Linked DNA regions of Homo sapiens: region 1 is linked to region 2. Evidence: promoter capture Hi-C in 16 types of primary human blood cells and fetal thymus (Javierre and others, 2016). All regions are on one chromosome and are shown on one strand. The core of a region is centred on a gene start or on the middle of the fragment in contact, and the rest is flanking DNA. Distances in the headings are between cores, read along the strand shown. Region 1 overlaps MMP2-AS1 (MMP2 antisense RNA 1). Region 2 holds the start of AKTIP (AKT interacting protein).

Evidence for each region. Contacts are between HindIII fragments. The CHiCAGO score rates a contact against its expected background, and 5 or more counts as called.
Region 1: a contact is called between a fragment that was not itself captured here and the fragment with the promoter of AKTIP in region 2, in 4 of 17 cell types (M0 macrophages, M1 macrophages, M2 macrophages and 1 more). The highest score is 13.6, in M0 macrophages.

The regions. Positions count from the first base shown.
Region 1 is chr16:55,443,422-55,450,409 of GRCh38, forward strand. It overlaps MMP2-AS1 (MMP2 antisense RNA 1), which reads right to left. Exons shown (of 7, transcript NR_147198.1): 3 at 3,443-3,527; 4 at 692-800. Among named protein-coding and RNA genes, the nearest start is that of MMP2-AS1, 15 kb to the right of the region's middle. The HindIII fragment of the contact is 522 bases long and covers 1,039-1,560 here.
Region 2 is chr16:53,500,993-53,508,022 of GRCh38, forward strand. AKTIP (AKT interacting protein) reads right to left here and starts at 2,217. Exons shown (of 10, transcript NM_022476.4): 1 at 2,155-2,217. It overlaps LOC124903690 (a long non-coding RNA gene), which reads left to right and starts at 3,388. Exons shown (of 2, transcript XR_007065069.1): 1 at 3,388-3,428; 2 at 3,749-4,986. RefSeq lists enhancers at 1,413-1,914, 1,915-2,414, 2,875-2,974 and silencers at 1,685-1,984, 2,245-2,314, 2,335-2,574, 3,295-3,384. The HindIII fragment of the contact is 2,307 bases long and covers 376-2,682 here.

The DNA of each region.
Region 1 (6,988 bases), core at 50-2,549, 1.9 Mb after region 2:
AAACTTGCAACACAGACATTTTCACACATGCAAACTCACCCATATTCATACACACATACCCTCATACACAGTCACCAACACAAACTCACAACACACACATTTTCACACTCATACGTGCGCGAACTCACACACTGATATACACATACTCACCCACATGTAAGTAGACTCATACACATTCCTGCATGCATTCACACACAGTTTCCATATGCACACACATTCTCCCACACACCTGACACATACATCATGCTTTCGCAGATCAAGTTTCCAGTTTCACATCTGTGTCACCTCCAGTACATTTTCGTACACACCCTCAAAAGACATCTCTGCAAGAAATTCCAAGACTCCCCACCCCCTTCCTGGCCCACCATCGTCCTTTTGGGTGTATTCAGGGGCAGCCTGGGGCACAGTTATTAAACTGTATCCCAAAGAGCTCTTCCACTATGCAATCTGCTTTTGCCTGAGATCTCTGTATCCTTTACTGAGAAAGTCTGATTCATTTCCCAGAAATTTTTATCTGCTATTAATCTTTCAGGATATAGTTAGTGTTGTGATATATTCAGATATTGTTTTTGGGTGGCAGGGGGAGGGGAGGGCAGATTTCAAGTGGCCGTCCCCTGGCAGTTTCAGAGATTACTCAGTGCTTATAAGCAGCTCAGAACTGTGTGACAGCATTTCCAAGCAAGGGACTTACAATCATGTTTCATTAATTCGACGTGAATGAAGCCTCATTTCTGGCCTTGAGGAGCTTAAGATGTATGTGAAATTAATAACAGAACAGATGTCTTCACAATTTGGTTCCTCTGGAAAAAAAAAAAAAAAAGGAACCTGATTACTTTGAAAATTTCAATGCTTTAAAATGCAGACCCAGGGAGTTTTTACTCCAGGGTAAAGAGTTATGCCTTGATATCGTCCACGTCTCATAACTAAGTGGAATTTAAATGTCAGGTTTATATTAAATAGTCATATTCCCCATCATGACATATAATAAACAACAGCTTATTACTTTCATTAATAAGATGTGTTGGACATTTAAACTAAAGCTTTGGAGATAAAGCCTGTACCTCCTGAGCAGGAGGTGCTGGGGAGACACAGGGGACACGTCGGGGAATATTCAGGCAGCCTGGTTTTTAGCTTTCTGATAATTTAATCATTGATTCCTCATAGGAAAACAAAATGCATCTGTGCTCACACAGAACTCACCACTTTATAAAGAAGTTGAGCCGTCTCCCACGGATGTGTGTGCCGGAGGCCGAATGTTGTGTTTCACAGGACACTTGAAGTCCTGCCTCTTTATTATTTCTTCCTGCCTGAAATCTTGTTTCTTTATCTAGGCTTCTGTGACACTAAGTGCCCCTCAAGCTGAATTTTAACTACTCCTCAGGGCGCAAGTGTGACTGCACACCAGGGGGGCTGGGTTTTTATTTCTGAAAGTCCAAAGGGGAACAGTGTAATGGAAAAATTACCCAAAGGGAAGTTATTCTGGAGGAGCAGGAAGAGAGAGCAAAGGCCCCCAGGCACATGGCCAGGAGTTCCCCTTGCCCTGGGTAGACAAGTGAATGAAGCTTTCAGGGGAAAGCAGTGCTAAATGGGGAAGCCCAGGGTTCACGTTAGGTCTCAGAATCTGGTCTACTGTAATGACCATAACAACCACTGTAATGACCCTTCTCTCTTTCCAGGGCCACTACGTGTCCTTGAAACTGTCAACTTCCCCACTTTCCCCCATGGAGAAAACAAGAGCATTAGACCAAATGACCTGCCAGCTTCTCACTTTGACATTCTCCATATCCTCTAAATTTGGCTTCCATGACATTTATTTTACTATGTCTACCTACTCCTCTCCACCTCCTTCCTCTCACAACTGGACTGGGTGTGGGGTGCCATGGTACAGTCACCTCTGCTGATTGCCCCAGATACAAAGGTCAAAAGAAGCTCGCAGGGCAGGAGGTCTTCTCTGGTCCCAGCTCTCCCTAGGGATGTGGCCTGGGGTAAGATGCATGCTGTGGGTGCCAGGCGTGGTGGCTCAAGATGCATGGTGTGGGCACCGGGCGTGGTGGCTCGTGACTATAGTCCCAGCACTTTGAGAGGCCAAGGTGGGAAGATTGCATGGAGTTTGAGACCAGCCTGGGCAACATAGTGAGACTCTGTCTCCACAAACAAAAAGAAGGCAGGCATAGTGGCACATAGCTGTAGTCCCAGCTACCTGGGAGGCTGAGCTGGGAGAATCGCTTGATCCCAAGAGGTCGAGGTTGCAGTGAGCTGTGATTGTGCCACTGCACTCTAGTCTAGGTGACAAAGCAAGAGCCTATTTCAAAAAAAGAAAAAAAAAAGATACACGGTGTGTTTGACCCTCGGATTTTTTATGTGAAAAGGGGTGGAATGACCCTCACCCAGGACTGTCATGAGAATGATATGAGCTGGTGCACATGCGTTTGGTACAGAGCATAGAAGCATAAAAGCTCCTGTTAGTGTTCACAGCTAGGGATCTCAAGCAATGTGCAGGAGAGAGGTATCCCGGGGTGACTGCACTTTTAGAAACTCCCTGGGCACTGGTGTTGAAGGAGCATTGTCTAAGTCTTCCTTATTCTTGACTGATATGGGGGCTGTGTGTGCACAGCAGTAGAGACCCGGGTCAGGATGCGGAAGGCGGGCCCCATCCAAGGGAGTGGGGGCAGCTCAGTGTCAGGCACTTATCACCCTGGGTGTGTATCCCAGTGGCGCTACGTAGCAATGCCAGGCCTTCTCCCTCTTCAGGGAAACCAGGAATGTGGAATTTTATGTGAAAGCTTCTAAGTTTTGAGTAGAGATCACTACAAGTCTGCACGCCATTCCTTGAAACCACTGGGGTCAGTGGTATTTCAGTATTTAAATTTTCAGATTTAAAAATATTATACAATGAGATCACCATTTATAACGTGACATCTCCAAGGGGGGTCTGGGAAAACATGTCACAGCCAAGCCCATTAATAATTTGGCATCAAAATAATTATACTCATGAAGAGTGGTGAGACATGGGACTCAACACTTTCTCTCCTTGTGGGGACCAGGCCAAGCCCCCACCACACTGGCAGAGTCAAGGCGACTGTGGCTGAGGCCTTGTGACCCAGTTTCCTGCAGCCAGCCCCACTCACTCCCAGGAGAATCATAGAAGCCATAAAGCTTTGGGATTCCTGAACTGAAAAGGCCATGACAACCACTGTGTAAACCCCATAAACACTGCATAAGGTCACCACACAGCTCCAAGTGACAGAATCCCAAGCCAAATAGGCTTAAATGAAGAACAGCAATAGCAATCAAGTTTATTAGGTTATAGGAGAGAAAAGTACAGAGGTGTCTGTTCAGGATCACCTGGATCCAGGTGCTCCAACAATGGCCCCTGGAGTCAGTTTTTATCTCTCTGCTCCACGTTTGGCTGTGTTGCTTCCTTACTCACACAGATACTTACCTCATGGTAGCAAAAAGGCTGCCAGAAGCTCCAGCTCCACATATTTCTGGGATTGGTCCCCTGGGAAACAGCATCTGTTCTGTCCCTAGAACAAAAGCCATGGGTTATCGCTAGGGCTCTGAAGGGGTCCTTTGCCCATCCTGGAGCCAATCACAGCAGTCTAGGTTCCCCGCCGGCCTGGAACTAAGGATAGGTTCCTTCTGGCCCATTCTACCCAGAGTTCAGAGCCAGAGAAACTGAATGGAGGCCTGGGTGGGGGCAAAACCGTAGGTGTCTATTACCAGGGTGACTCAGGAAACCCTTTCATTTCAGCAGAGCAGACAATGAAACTAAGAGAGGAGGTGAGATTTGGCCAGAGTCACACAGCAGGGTCACTGGCAAAGTCAAGGTTGTGACCCCGACATCTCACGGTTTGGAAATCCCTGCATTGTACCACATGTGATTAGTGGAGCCTGCTTGGAAGCCTTCCCCCATTTCCTATGTCTCCTCTCCCCCCGAGGGGGAAGAGATGAGGAAAACCAATATGCTAACAAGCACACGCCCCCATGAGCGTGCACGCGCGCGCATGCGCACACGCACACACAAGCACATAAGCCTTATGAGCAAAAAGATCACAGCACTCTATTAGCAAGCTTGTGCCAGAGTAACCACAATTTATCTTTTCTTCTCTTATACATCCCTCATCTCTGGAGAGGTCTCTACTGAGTCCAGCACAGAGTTAGCACCCAATAAATGTCGCCATTATTATTGTTGTAATTATTATTTCTCATACTATGAATTACTCTCTTCCACACTCTCCTTGGCCTAATCTGTTAATTTACCTTGAGGTGCAAATGATTAAGCAGAGTGAGTATGAATGGCCAAGCAGAAGGACCAAGGGAGTTGGCATTTTTAATAAGAGCCAGAGCCTGAATTCAGCAAAAGGCATAAAACCCTCATAATTATTAACGTGCATAGCTCTTTCCAGTTTGCAGACTGGTTTCTCATTCACCTCATTTGATTTTTAAAAAACAAAAAACAAAACCGGAAAACAACCCTGTGAGTGAGATTAGAAGGGAATCATCTCCAACCACAGATAAGAAAGCCAAGCACTCCCGAAAAAACATTTAGCTAAGGTTTTCCAGGTTTTCCTGGGAGATCTGGGATAGAACTGGAGTCCTAGTTTAGAAGCATTTTACTAAATGTACATGTGTATGCATGCATGCACATAAGCATCCACACACACTCATACTGTTAGAAATACAGGCCTGGAGTGGTGACTCATGCCTGTAATCCCAGCACTTTGGGAGGCCAAGGTAGGAGGATCACTTGAGGCTAGGAGTTCAAAACCAGCCTGGGAAGAATAGCAAGACCTTGTCTCTACTAAAAATAAAAATAATTAGCTGGGCGTGGTGGCGCACATCTAGAGTTCCAGCTACTTGGGAGGCTGAGGTGGGAGGATCACTTGAGTCCAGGAGCTGGAAGCTGCAATGAGCCGTGATTGCACCATTGCACTCCAACCTGGGCAACAGGGCATCCATGTCTCAAAAAGAAAAGAAGAAAAGAAGGGAAAAGAAAAAAGAAAAGAAGAAAAGAAGGGAAAAGAAAAAAGAAAAGAAAGAAAGAAAGGAAAAAGAAAGAGAGAAAGAAATGAAAGAAAGAAAGGAAGGAAGGAAGGAAAGAGAAAAAAAGAAAGAAAGAAAATAAAAGAAGGAAGGAAAGAAAGAAAGAAAGAAAAAAAGAAGGAAAGAAAAGAAAGAAGGAAGGAAGGACAGAAAGAAAGAAAGAAAGAAAGAAAGAAAGAAAGAAAGAAAGAAAGAAAGAAAGAAAGAAAGGAGGGAGGGAGGGAGGGAAGGAAGGAAAAGAAAGAAAGAAAAAAAGGAAGGAAGGAGGGAGGGAGGGAGGGAGGAAGGAAGGAAGGAAGGAAAGAAGGAAGGAAGGAAGGAAGGAGAGATATTGCAATACAAATAAACAATGTATTTAAAAGCTCACCAAGTCATGAACACTCATAGGGCCTTACTTACATTACCCATGCCCTGATTTAACTTTGCATAACAGTATTAAAAGCTCCTTGGGCCACAGCAAGGCCACCACATTGACCTCTTTTCCTACCTCCCACTTTTATTTATCTCAATTATGATGAAGACTCTTTTCCCTTTGCTAACAAGAACTCTATTCAATTCAATGAACATTTACTGATCTCCTAGAAGGTAATTAGTATCTCCATTTTACTGACAAGGAAACAGAGATTCAGAAAGAGTTTAAGTAACATGTCTAAAGTTGTACAGCTAGACCTAACCATTTCCTCCTGTCGTCGTCTGGCCCAGGTGACCTGTCATTTGATTCTACCCAATTTCTCTCTTTCTGAAACCAGGAAGCATGGGTGTTCAGGTCCTAATCATGAAAAAAGTGGGAAGAAAGTGGTTTTTCCTGGCCTCCACTTCAGGCCAAGTCAGGTGCATTCATTCACTTGACAATATTTACTGAGTTCCTACTATGTGTTAGTTCTCTTAGCCTTGAGGTTTTGAAGGGTTTGCAGGGTAGAAGAGAAAAGAGAGAGAACAGTCCTTTTTAATTAAAGTATAATTGATTCCATAAATGTTTGTTCTTGGGCTAAAGCCTATATTGGCAAACACCAATGGAAAAATAAGTTCAAGAATCAAACCAGCAGTATTGTATACATATCTCATCTACATCTATATCTATATATATTTATGCATAATATTCTATTTTAGTAGGTAATACATACATGTGGTGGAAAATTTTAAGTTGCAAAGTCTCTTTCACATACCAGCCACCCAGTTTCACCCCTTAGAGACAATGACTTGTTTCTCATGAGTCTATCTAGAGAAAGTGAAGCATGTACTATTGAGTCTGCTTATTTCTCCAGAACCTTTTCAAAAAATATACTGTCAAACTTTGTGATATTTGCCAATCTGGCCAATGAAAAATAGTACAATTGACCCATGAACAACATGGGGGTTGGATTGCCAACTCCCATCACGGTCCAAAATCTATGTGTAACTTTGGTCTCCCCCAAAACTTAACTACAAATAACCTACTGTGGACCTTACCAATAACATTAACAGCTGACACATATTTTGTATGTTATATGTATCATATAGTACAATCTTACTATAATGTAAGCTAGAGAAAAGAAAATCATTAAGAAAAGAAAATGTATTTACTATTCATTAAGTGGAAGTGTCTGCCTTTTAGGCAAGCACAGTTCATGTAACATTTTTTTTTTTAATTTTGAGATGGAGTCTTGCTCTGTCACCCAGGCTGAAGTGCAGTGGTGTGATCTCAGTTCACTGCAACTTCTGCCTCCAGGGTTCAAGCGATTCTCCTACCTCAGCCTCCCAAGTAGCTGGAATTACAGGCACCCGCCATCATGCCTGGCTAATTTTTGTATTTTTAGTAGATAAGGGGTTTCATCATGTTGGCCAGGCTGGTCTCGAACTCCTAACCTCAGGTGATCTGCCCACGTCGGCCTCTGAAAGTGCTGGGATTACAGGCATGAGCCACCCGCTCCTGGCCTTTATGTAAATTTTTCAAAAAAAATCT
Region 2 (7,030 bases), core at 967-3,466:
CCAGACTCAGAATGCACTGTACCCACATACACATAAGTTGTATCACTGTTCCCAGGGTTATGGGAACAAACAATAGATACAAGGAGGCTGATTTAAGCGCTGCCTCAACTCACCTGAGTACAAAATGATTCCTCCAGCAAAGTATTAGCCAAAGAAATAAGAGAAAACAGGAAGGCACAGCACAAGTATGTCACTAAGACGACAAAAGTAGTTACCTGAGTCCTGTCAGTACCATCCCCCAATAAACTGCCTTCTACAACTTCGAAACATATAGAAACTGCAGGATCATGTACTTAAGGAACTGCCAAGCAATCCAGACAAATGCAACACAGGCACGCAAGAGAGACATTTCACAAGTACAGATCTTCCAGCCGAAGCTTCAAGTCGTGGATAAGAAAGCATGTCTCAAAGGTCATAAAGTCAGTGGGTCATTTACTAAAAATACAAAGAAGCAAAGGAAAAGCAGCCAAGCCCAGCTGTAAGAACAGCAACTTCCCTGCCCTGGTATTTCCCCCCAGGCTCTGTTACCTTTAAAGCAGAGCTCCTTCTCTGAATTCCTACTTGCACCAATCAAACGGCTGAAGGTGAAAAGGGTCAAAACTAAGCAACGTTTTCCTAATTTCTTAAACAGATCATGAGCAAACCATGTACTAAATGTCCCCAATCAGCAATAATTTGTCTTCTCTGACGAGCTTGTGACATCCAGGGACGTACCCAACCCAGGTCATCCATACCTTGCCAGTGCCCATTACTGCTGTTTTGTTTTCCAAGAGAAAATGCCACCCAGTAATTAAATCAGAGGAATGAAGATCCTGGCTCTTCTACTAGCATGGATAACATGCAATAAGTAACAACAGTTCTCCGCAAATCTGCCTTTAAAGGTGAGTATGACACACTGAATATACTTGAGATATCAAAAATGTGCGGGGGCATGTTCCCCTTTGGCTCAAATGAAGACACTGATTTTCAGATCTAGCAGTAATGTGCAGCACCCCAGTGTCCTCTAGGACACACCTAACACGGGACCGGATCCCTTGGGACACAGTGGTGTGCTCCACAACATACATTTAATGGGCTGGTGCAAACCTGTAAAGTCTCTTAAAGGTCTAACGCGTTAGGATTCTCTTTAAGAATCCAGTAAATTTTGTCCCCAGTTCTGCCTGTCATTAAGCAGGAGGTATTGTCTTCTGCTGCCTAACTTTGCTATGGATCTTTTAATCCAATGTTTCCAGCAGCAACATAATCACGAGAAACTGTAGCACACTTTTCAGGGTCTAGTCTAGGACAAGCACAGCATACATGTTCTGAGAGGAATGACATAGATGGAAGCAAGACATGTTACATCCTTGTCACTTGGAAACAATTTTAGAATTTCTGCCTGTTTGGCCACGGCTGCATTCCTTTACATCACCCAGCTGAGAAGTCTGGGTCTTCAGCCTGCGCGAATGACAGTGCGTGGCAGAGCTAAAACTAGGCTAAAACATGAGTGCTGCTGTTACTCTACATGCCACAGCGCACTCACATCACCCCGAATCGGACTTAAGAAATTACACGTTAAGAGGAGACAGAGCAGGGGCCAGAAAAAAAAAGATGAAAACGGCCCGGGCCAGGCTCGCTGGGGACAGCCGGGACCCGCGGCGGCCTCGGACCGGCACCCTCACCGCGGGCGGAAACCCGTCTCTGAGCACTCAGGGAATCTGGACAAACCTGTCTCGAGGTGATGCAAGGCGGGGGCCCTGTCCTGGCCTCGCAGCTAGCTCGATGCTGGCCCGGGAGCCGCGGGCCCCTCCAGTGGGGGGGCTCTGGGGCCCGGCGACGCCCCCTTAACCAGAGCTCGGGGTCGGGACCCGGCCGGGGAGGGCGGGCACGGGCCGGGGCGAGCCAGCTGGGCCCCCCTCTCCCTCGGGCCGGGCCAGCCCAGCTCCAGCCGCAGTCCCCAGCAGCAGTCCCGGGCTGCGAGGCGGCCAGCGCAGCAGGTGCCTGCAAACGCGCACAGGTGCCCGGCCCCGCCTCCGTGTCCCACTGCGGCCGCCGTCGCCGAGTCGCGAGCGCCTAGAAAGATGGACAAATGCCGGGCCCGTGGAGGCTGGCGGCCAGATTTACAGACACCTCAGCCCTCGCGTACCCACCAGCCTGCCGGGCAGTAAGCCTCACCCCAGTGCCTTCAATGCAGAGCTCCTGGCTGCCAAGCGCCGCCGCGGCCCGACAGCATCTCCCGCCGCAGCGCCAGCCCTGCCCCTGCTTGATCCCCGCCCCGCCCCACCCCGCCCTGCCCTGCCCTGCCCTGCCCTCGGCAGCGGGCTCCGCCCCCTGCTGCACGATCCTGGGGCCCGAGGCTTCCGCCTGGCCTCCCGGCGCCAACTGGCTCTCACACCTGCCCGTCAAAGACGTTCTTCCGGGGGCGTTGGGAAGAACACACTCGGTCCTGCAAATCAAATCACCCCGGTTTGGGTGGGACTGCACTTGACCCTCCCCTTACGTAACAGCGCCTGGGACGGCCTGTCAGTCATGGAAGTATCGGCCCCCCGGGGAGGGATGGGGCAGAGACAAACAAGCGCCGGGTCACAATTGGCCAGGGCGTCTGCCAGTCACCACGGAGACCTTCCCGGAGGTTTATTCGCACAGCCCACAGCGCAACCGCCATGCGCAGGGGCTGGGGCATACGCTAACGTCTGCAAGCCAAGCTTTTGGGGAGGGCCGGGCCGCGCGACTGCCCAGTGGCTCCCATCGCTAGGTCCTACTGCGTTGGGCGGCGCTGCGAGGCCCGAGGCCGCCACGTCGGGCCCACAGGGTACCAGGGGTCAGAAGGACACTTGGCGTGGCATCAAGAAACGCCCGTTCTCTCCATCAGTGCAGGAGCTGAAGGCTGGAGCTGAAGGGAGCTCAGCTCCAAGTGGGCCCTGGGCACTAGAGCAGCCAGAGGAGCTTTGTAAATCTGTGTGTGTCGGCCCCGACCTGCAGCATCCGAGTGGGGGCCGGGGGCTGGGGGGAGGGGGGAGGCTGAGGACCAGGAATCCACATCTGTCACAGTTCGCTGCTGATTCTGGCGCACACTGAAGTTGGAGAACCTCTCCCATAGCAACATAGTTCCTGGTCTTTTTTTTTTTTTTTTTTTTTAATTCACACGCTCTCATTTGGACCTCCCGTCTGCTTTCCCATGGAGGTCTCTCTCTGGCCTAATTCTGTGACTGCTGCCAGCTGCTTTCCAGGCCTGTTCTTACCAACGGTGCCTCCCCGTGGTTAGTCCGTCCAATCTCGGCACTCCACTTCCACACTTGCGCGACAGCCCTCTCCCCGCAAGCCCCTGCCCCTTTTCTAGACACCAGAGGCACTGACCTGTCTGTGACACCGCCTCAGTGTCTTACACTCAGAAGCCGCATTCTCTGGCCGGGTTGTTTGGTCCATTTTTGGTTGCCTCTGAGATTCTGGTAAGTGACTTATTAAAGGGCAGGAAGCCAAATTCTCCTGATGTTAATCCCAAGGGTTGGTTCTGAAACCCAGCTTCCTCCCCTAGCTGAAAACACTTCTGAGCCACTTCCTTTTGTCCCCTTAGGACACATTTAGGAATGTTATCATGCCTTTTAATACGAGTCTTAATACAGAAAGGCAGGCAAGCAGGAAATCCTTTTTTCAGGCCACAGGTGGTCTCCTTTGGCACCTCTGTGGCCCATTTCCTCCCAATCTTCTTTGAAGCTCATTATCCTCTGCAAAGCTTTTTTTCTGCTTTCCTCCTTTCCCCAACCTTCAGTTTTCACCGAGGACCCACATAGGTATTTCTCCAGCTCACATCTATCCACTGAGCTTCCAATGCATGTCATCAACTGCGTACTTGGCACCGGATGACTCAGACGCACACCAGCATCAGACTGCACATGGCAGGAAAGCCAACTCAAACCGGCTTACTTAGCAAGGGGATTTCTCTCCCATGGGAGGATTGTCTCCAGAGGTGGTGCCCTGGTCTTCAGGCTCTGCTTTCCTTGCAGTCCCTGGAATTGCACTTTCAGGCTGGTAGCAAGATGGCCGCGGCACACCCAGGATCTCACAAAATTAAAAGTATCCCTTTCTTCCAGTGGTCCCTTTTGAAATACATGACTACCTTTCCCAGAAGCTCCGCAGAAGAAATGCCTGCAGGTTTCAATGGCCAGAAGTAAGTCTCTGGCCACAACGAAACCCAGTCAACGGCAAGTGGAAGGAGTCCGCCATGATCGACTTGGGCTGAGATTTTCCCTAGATCTCTGCCTGGACTTTAGGCAGAGGAGAGCCATGATCAGATTTGTATTTTGAAAACATCACTTTGTGCGGAAAACAGATTGTAGGGGCACAAGGCTCACGGGGCAGTTGAGGAACCATGGCAGTAGTTCAGGCAACAGAGAATCGCATGAATTTGAAGGTAGAGATGGAGAATTGAATGAGTTCCAGAGATGTTTAAGACGGGATGATATAGTTTGGATATGGTTTGACCCTTCCAAACCTCATATTGAAATGTGACCCCCAATGTTGAAAGTGGGGCCTGGTGGGAGTATTTGGGTCATGGAGGCTGATCCCTCATGAAAGGCTTGGTGCTGTCCTGGCAGTAGTGAGTTCTTGGCAGTAGTGAGTGAGTTCTATTAGTTCCCGAGAGAATTGATTGTCAAAAAGAGCCTGTCACCTTCTCCTCCCCTGACCACTGCTCTCTCTCTTGCCAAATGATTCCTGCTGGCCTCTCCCTCTGCCATGAATGGAAGCTTCCTGAGGTCCTCACCAGAAGATGCTGGTGCCATGCTTCTTATACTTAGTTGCCTCTGTCTTTCATTTGACATATATTTATTGCATGCTTAATGACATCTAGGCTTTAAATGCTGGGGAGGCGTTGGAGAACAAAACAGACATTGTTCCTCCTCATGGAGCTACGGGAGATAGATGCTAATCAAGTCATCTCCCAAATCAATGGCTAATTGCCCCAAGGAAGTGGACAATGAGCTGAATAAACCTCTTTTTAAAAATAAATGACCCAGCCTCAGGTATTCCTTTATAGCAACACTGATGGATTCATACAGGTGGGGTGGACAGAGCTTGGCCATGGACTAGGTATGGGGGATGAAGAGGCAGATATGGCTGACACCTAGATTTTTAGCATGAGCTACAGGATGGATGGTGAGGCCATTCACTGAGGTGACAAACAGTGAACCACAAGCAGGTTTGGGACAGTGGGAAATGGGAAAATCTGGGTTGTGTTTTGGGTAGGTATGTTTGGGGTGTTTCTGTAAGCACTATTGCCTGTATACCTAATACCCACTTCTCCCTTTTTCATTGCTGACAGAACCTCCATTTTCTTGAGGAATTTAAGCCCTTCAGTGGTTCCCCATTGGGCAAAGACCAAACTCCTCACCATGGCTGTGTCCCAGCCCCAGGTGGCTGCAGACTCCAGCCACTCTGACATTCTTCCAGTTCCTTGGAAGGGAGTTGCTCCCCTACCTGCCCTGCCACAAAAGGGGCCTTCGCAGTGAACGTTCCCTTTGCCCAGTTCATTCTCTTCAATCCCCTACACAGATCTCAGCTCTAACACTACTTCCTTGGGGGCAATTTGCTGTTGATTTGGGAGATTATTAGTGTCTGTCTCCCACACTGTAAGCTCCTGAGGAGGAACCATTTTTTTGCTTTCTATTGTCTCCCCGGCACCCAAGAGCTAGATGTTGTAGGCATGCAATAAATATTTGCCAAATGAAGGACAGAAGAAACAAAAGTACATTTGAAACACCTACCTGCACGCCCACAGGTCTGCACCAAGAAAGCAACTCATTATGAAAATCAGGATGATTTATTCAAAGGGAAATGAGGAGGTGGCCTCAAGGTACCATTTCTTTAAGACTAAAACATAAAGTGCTGAGAAAAATCTCAATGGACCCAAAACCTTACCTATAAAACATTTTAAATCGCTTCATATTACATTTCCTATTCTCAATTTTTGAAGCATATTTGATATATTTGCACCAAAAGGTTCTTTTTGCATCCAGACTTAATAGATATGTGATCTCTGAGTATTCAGGACTTCTGCTCATGTTCTAATCAGCAAAATATTCCCTGAATCATACATCTTTTGGACTCCGGAAAAGTAACTGTACAAAGCTGTTTAGATCACTGACTTAACTATTAAAGGCCTTCACAGAAAGAAGGAAAGGATAAAATGTTGAAGGTTGTTAAAATACATATGTTTCATACACAGGCACACATATAAGCCGATGTTTTTAGCGCAATCCATTTGCCCCCAAGTCCTTTTCTGAAAAGTAGATTCCTGTATACATGTCACTGATTACATATACTGTTCAAAATATGGGAGGATGATCTAGCTATACATATTAATGTCTTTGAAAAAATATACTTAGCACATTAAAGCCATTATTTTATGGGTAATAATGTTTAGGATGAGACCAAAGTAGGCATTTAATGTTGTTGTTTTTTTTAAGTAAATGGATTTAAGGGAGATCAGATAGTTGTCCTATAGTTAACAATGATCCTCAGACAAGACAGAAATCACAAACTTTTAAGAATTATTGAAGGTTTAGAAATGCTGCTATAGACGGATGATGTGGCTTTCTTCCTTTCCATAGCCTCATCGAGCGATACGGTTCTTGCTTATAACATCACACATGTGCTTCCAGGTTTTGGTTGCATCATGTTTTCCTCCCTATCCCATTACCCATAACTCCTATCCCTGAGCAAGTGGGTGGGCGGGTGGAGGAATGAATTTTACAGACAGACTACAACATTTCAAAATGAAATCAGGGTAGCTGATGGACCACTGCGGATATTTATGTCTTAAGGAAAAGCAACCAATATATGATACGGCTGCTCATTCAGGGCTGAAGAGAACTGATTTCCTTTTATAATCAAACAGCATTTTGAACGTGGTCTGACACCGCAAATAATCCCCACTCCCTCAGCACGCTGATGACTGTACCCACAGCCATAAGAGCAGTGTTCTCTTTGATTCAGTTTATCTTTGGGAAACCACTTCACTCTGTGGTCTCAAAGCATTTGGAATGATGATAAA